2 separate regions of the Homo sapiens genome follow, and region 1 is linked to region 2. Evidence: promoter capture Hi-C in human tissues and cell types (Jung and others, 2019). All regions are on one chromosome and are shown on one strand. Each heading gives the region's core, a stretch centred on a gene start or on the middle of the fragment in contact. The rest is flanking DNA. Distances are from core to core; before and after follow the strand shown.

Evidence for each region. The method cuts DNA at HindIII sites, captures the fragments that hold promoters and counts their contacts. A contact is called where the count stands out against the background at its distance.
Region 1: a contact is called between a fragment that was not itself captured here and the fragment with the promoter of ZNF839 in region 2, in 1 of the 25 tissues and cell types used here (adrenal gland).

Annotation. Positions count from the first base shown.
Region 1 is chr14:103,356,279-103,358,978 of GRCh38, reverse strand. No RefSeq gene overlaps it. Among named protein-coding and RNA genes, the nearest start is that of SNORA28, 20 kb to the right of the region's middle. The HindIII fragment of the contact is 3,148 bases long and covers 1-2,700 here.
Region 2 is chr14:102,318,345-102,321,044 of GRCh38, reverse strand. It overlaps ZNF839 (zinc finger protein 839), which reads right to left and starts at 1,299. Exons shown (of 8, transcript NM_018335.6): 1 at 992-1,299. The coding sequence starts at 1,279. RefSeq lists an enhancer at 680-789 and silencers at 890-1,079, 1,140-1,239. The HindIII fragment of the contact is 9,233 bases long and covers 1-2,700 here.

The DNA of each region.
Region 1 (2,700 bases), core at 162-2,661, 1.0 Mb before region 2:
AAGCCAAGGTTAGAGAAACAAATATCTTCATCTTCCCTTGTTGGGAATCAAGAGAAGCCTCTATGGATAGAAGAACCAGTAATAAAATCGCAAATATTATGTTTAAGCTTATGGAAGGAACCAATAGAGGGATTGAAAATAATAATAATGGCCAGGCGTGGTGTGAGCCACACCTGAAATCCCAACACATTGGGAGGCTAAGGTAGGCGGATCACTTGAGGTCAGGAGTTGGAGACTAGCCTGGCCAACATGGTGAAACCCCATCTCTACTAAAAATACAACAACAACAACGAAAATTAGCTGGGAGCGGTTGTACATGCCTGTAATTCCAGCTACTAGGGAGGCTGATGCAGGAGAATCGCTTGAACCTGGGAGGCGGAGGTTGCAGTGAGCTGGGATCACACCACTGCACTCCAGCCTAGGCAACAGAGTGAGACTCGGTTTAAAAAAAAATGAAAATAATAATAGAAAATAGTAATAACCACATTGAGAGGAAGATGTGGGGGGATGGGGTGGTGAGTCACCTCTACAGGTGTCACCTGAGACCCCAAGGGATAATGTCTCAAAGTGACAGCAACTTATAGCTATGTACCCGTGTTATATAGTAGTTAGAGGTTAATCACCAGAAAAACCTCAAACAGAAAGTTCAGTTACTACAGGCCAATTCCAAAGCTTGTATTTTTTTTTTTTTTTTTTTTTTTTGGAGACAGACTCTGTCTCTGTCGCCCAGGCTGGAGTGCAGTGGCATGACCCCGGCTCACTGCAACCTCTGCCTCCCAGGTTCAAGCAATTCTCCTGCCCCCATCTTGGTTCACCACAGCCTCCCCATCCTTGCTCAGGTGATTCTCCCACATCAGCCTCCAGAGTCGCTGAGACTACAGGCATGCACAGACATGTCCTGCTAATTTTTGTATATTTTTTAGAGACGGTGTCTCACTATATTGCCCAGGCTGGCCTCGAACTCCTGAGCTCAAAAGATGGCACGCCTTGGCCTCCCAAAGTGCTGGAAGGTGGGAGCTGCCAGGTGTGAGCCACCGTGCCTGGCCTCTTGCTGTTTCATTATCCATTAGATGTGCAGTGTTATTATCTTGGTTCTGTCTGCTCCTGCCCTGTCTCTGAGTTGTTGCCTCACCACGTCACAGTCTTATGAGCTCTTTTTTTTTTTTTTCTTTTAGATGGAGTCTTGCTCCGTTGCCCAGGCTAGAGCACAGTGGCGCGATCTTGGCTCACCGCAACCTCCACCTCCCAGGTTCAAGCAATTCTCCTGTCTCAGCCTCCCGAGTAGCTGGGATTACAGGTGCCTGCCACCATGCCCGGCTAATTTTTGTATTTTTGTAGAGATGGGGTTTCACTGTGCTGGCCAGGCTGGTCTCGAACTCCTGACCTCAACTGATCCACCTGCCTCGGCCTCCCAAAATGCTGGGATTACAGGCGTGAGCCACTGTTATGAGCTCTTTTATGGGGAGATGGATCTGGGGACACCTGCTTTTCTGCCTTGGATTGAATTTCACCATATCTGTTTTTATACTTGTCCTTGTTTGTTTTTTCCTTTGCAGGTTGAATTAAAAAATCAGACTCCAACTGAGGATCACACATTGCATTTAGCAGAAATGTATCTTTAGTCTGCTTTAGTTGCCATAACAAAATACCATAGACTGATTGGCTTACACAATAGAGATTTATTTTCTTGTCCTTCTGGAGGCTGGAAAGTCCAAGATCGTGGTGTCAGCATGATCAGCTCCCAGTGAGGGCTCTCTTCCTGGCTTGCTGTCTTCTTCCTGTGACCCCCACAGGGGACAGAGAGAGAGAGAGAGAGAGAGAGAGAGAGAGAGAGAGAGGGAGAGAAGAGAAAGAAGAGAAGAGAGAGAAGAGAGAGAGACAGGAGAGAGAGAGAGAGAGAGAAGAGAAGAGAAGAGAGAGAAGAGAGAACACACTCAAGAATGCTTTCTGTGCTAAGTGTGGTGGCTCATACCTGTAATCCCTGCACTTTGGGAAGCTGAGGCAGGAGGATTGCTTGAATCCAGGAGTCAAGACCAGCCTGGGGAGCATAATGAGACCTTGTCTCTACAAAAAATAAATAAATTAACAAAATTAGCTGGGCATGGTGACACATGCCTGTAGTCCCAGCTACTTGGGAGGCTGAGGTGAGAGAATCACTTGAGCCCGGGAGGTCAAGGCTGCAGTGAGCTGAGATTGGGCCACTGTACTCTAGCCTGGGCAATGGAGGAAGATCGTGTCTCAAAAAAAAAAAAAAAAAGAAAAGAAAAGGAAAAGAAAAGAAAAACAGAAGTGCTTTCCGGTGTCTCTTATTATAAGAGTACTAATCCCCTCATGAAGGCCCCACCCTTTGACCTCATCTAACCCTATGACCTCCCAAAGGCTCTATCTCCAAATACCATCACACTGGGAGTTTGGTCTGCAATATAGAAATTTTGGGAGGATACTGTTTAGTCCATAGCAACCTTCTTTCTAGATTAAAGAAGACTTTTAAATTTTATTTTATTTATTTATTTATTTTTTGGTGCTTCATGACACTGACGTTTTTGCTTCCTTGTAGTGGCCCTGTGTATGCTTGCATATCTACCAAGCTGTTTACTTTCATTTTGCTCATGGTGTGTTTGGGCTGCTCTGGCTAGGCTATCTCTTCTGATGTTGGGCGGGAGATTTCTCTGACACTCACGTTGTTCTTGGGGGTATTTA
Region 2 (2,700 bases), core at 50-2,549:
ACAACCCTAAGCAGCTAACATCAGTCAAAAAAACTCAACGAGTGAAGGTTCCTGATTCTATTCCCTAACCCGTTTCTTCTAGTGGAAAAAGCTGTCTTCTTTTGGCAATTTTGGGGTGAGACTAATTTTGTTTACAACCCCAGCGCTGAAATGGGGTGGAATTTTACAGATGCCGTGTAGGCCCTCTGGCTTCAGGCGCTATGCTTCACCCTCCGGAGTTGGGCGACCGTCTTCTAGTTATCACCCCCCTAGCAACCAAAAGGTGTGTGGCCCAGGAAATAAACCCACTGGGAAAGGATGTTTTGTAGTATACAGAGTGCTTTCACATATTCCAAACATTGTGTATCAGGCACTGTGCTGGGTACTGCGGTTACAAATCAGTCACTATCACCCAGGATGTTAAGTCCTGCAGCGAACTAGTGTATTGTGCTTGACTTTGTTCCAAGCCTGGGCCTTGGCACCTTACAACTGAAAAGCTAAGTTGGTTCCTTTTAATTCATTTATGTTTCAGCTCCAGTGTCTGGCCTACGGGACCACCCACTCTAAAGCAGCCCCCGTCAATCCCAGAACCTGCCTTATGTTCGTTCTTCAGCAAGTGTGTTCAAGGCTTCACCTCCTGCACATAGTGGGGAGTGCTGGGAACACGGTCTCTAAGTGCTCCACAAAGGCTGAACCAGCGGTGAAAGGCCTGTAAGAAGAGCTAGGGAGCACGCAAAAGCCCCCAGCAGGGCTGTGAAGGCAGAGAAGGCACGAGGGCGTTCCAGGCACAGGGCCCAGCGTGAGCAACCGCTCCTAGAGTGAGGCTCCTGGGGTGAAAATGCCAGGGTGGTGACAGGTGGGGGCCGAACGCCGTCCCTAAGAAGCTCAGCCTGGGGACGCCCTGAGTCTTAACCCGGGCGGATACTGGCCTCCCCGGACAAGCAGCTACCCCGCCGCGGGGCGTCGGCCCCCTTCGGGCCTCAGTTTCCCCACGTCCCTCCCGACGCCTCACCTGGGGCGGGAGCAGGCGCGGCAGGCGCGGGGGCTCGGTGCCCCGGCCCCGCTGCAGGGCGGCCTGTTGGGCCGCGTCCCGCAGCCGCCGCGCCGCGTCCCGCAGCACGAAGGGGGGCGGCGGCGGCGGCGGCTGCGCCTTCGTCACCTGCTCCAGGACCTGCCGCAGCTGCTCGGGGCCCAGCGGGGCCACACGTGCGACGCTGCCGCTCTGGCCCGGAGGAGCCGGGCCGCCGCCGCCGCCGCCATCCTCGCTGCCGCCCCCAGCCTCCGGCTCCGCATCCGCCATGGCGGCCGAGGCGGGGACTCGAACCCGGGTCGCTGAGCGACGGCGTCTCCAATGTACGTCACCTAGGAGAGGGGCGGGCTACGAGTGCCTCGCAGGCCAAGACACCTAGGAAGGCGACCGTGTCTGGCCGGGAAAGTCGTGGAGTGCCCCGCCCCAGCCGACAACCGCCGCGGCTCTTAGGGCTGATCAGCAGAGCGGACCCCCCTTATTTTCCTTATTGCCTGTCACGGATGTGTTTAAGACTCACCTTCTCTGGGAGCTGTCCCGGATCTCCCAGGGGGAGGTCTTCGGGGTTTCAGAGCCCCTGGCCCAAAAGTTACCACAATATCCAAGTGTTCTGACGTCATCATGCATCCGAATCAGCGGAGGATGCTGTCTGGAGATGCAGAGTACTGTGCCCACCCCTAAACATTTGGATTTATACATCTGGGAGGGGACCACAGTTTGAATTGTTAACGAGAGTGTTTCCCAAATTTTTGCCTTGTCACCGTAGCTTCTCTCTACCCACCCACCCAGATTGGGTGCACCTTGAAGGGAGAGATGATATATTACACAATCGGTGCCCAGCACAGGCCCTGCCCAGAACACAACGCACGCTCAGGGCATGAATGATGGATGGATGAATATGAATAAACGAATGAGTGAACGAATGAATGAACCCACCCTCTCTCTATCCATCCAGCTCCACTGCCCCATCTTCCTCAGCCTGATCGCCTCTCCTTCTTACGGTTGAGGCTCTGTGCGCCCTCCGAATCTTGTAGCTGCAGGTGTGTACACATGTCCCAGCTCCTTTCCCCAGGGAGAGCAGGAGGTCCACTGGTCCACAAACCCTTCTTAAGCACCTGGTGGGTGAACCGCTGTTTCCGCCCTGGGGGGTATACAGTCTAGGTGCCGACCCCCAAGGAGGAAACTTCCCAAGGGGGAAGGAGGAAACTGGCATTTGCAGCACAGTATGATGAGCGCCGAAGCCGGTAAAGTAAGGCTGGCGGCCTGGGTGGCGTCAGAGAAGGTTCTGGAAGATCACCACCATCCTCATCAATACTCACATTGCATTCACGATGATCCCTTCCGTGTTATTTTTTAATGGTGAATTTTATATTATGGGTATCTTACCACAATTTTTTTTTTTTTTTGAGACAAGATCTCACTCTGTCACCCAGGCTGGAGTGCAGTGGCACAATCTCAGCTCACCGCAACCTCCATCGCCTGGGTTCATGCGGTTCTCCTGCCTCAGCCTCTTGAGTAGCTGGGATTACAGGCGTCCGCCACCATGCCTGGCTAATTTTTGTATTTTTAGTAGAGACGGGGTTTCATCATGTTGGTAAGGCTGGTCTTGAAACCCTGACCTTAGGTGATCCGCCCGCCTCGGCCTTCCCAAGTGCTGAGATTACAGGTGTGAGCCACCACACCCGACCAGATTT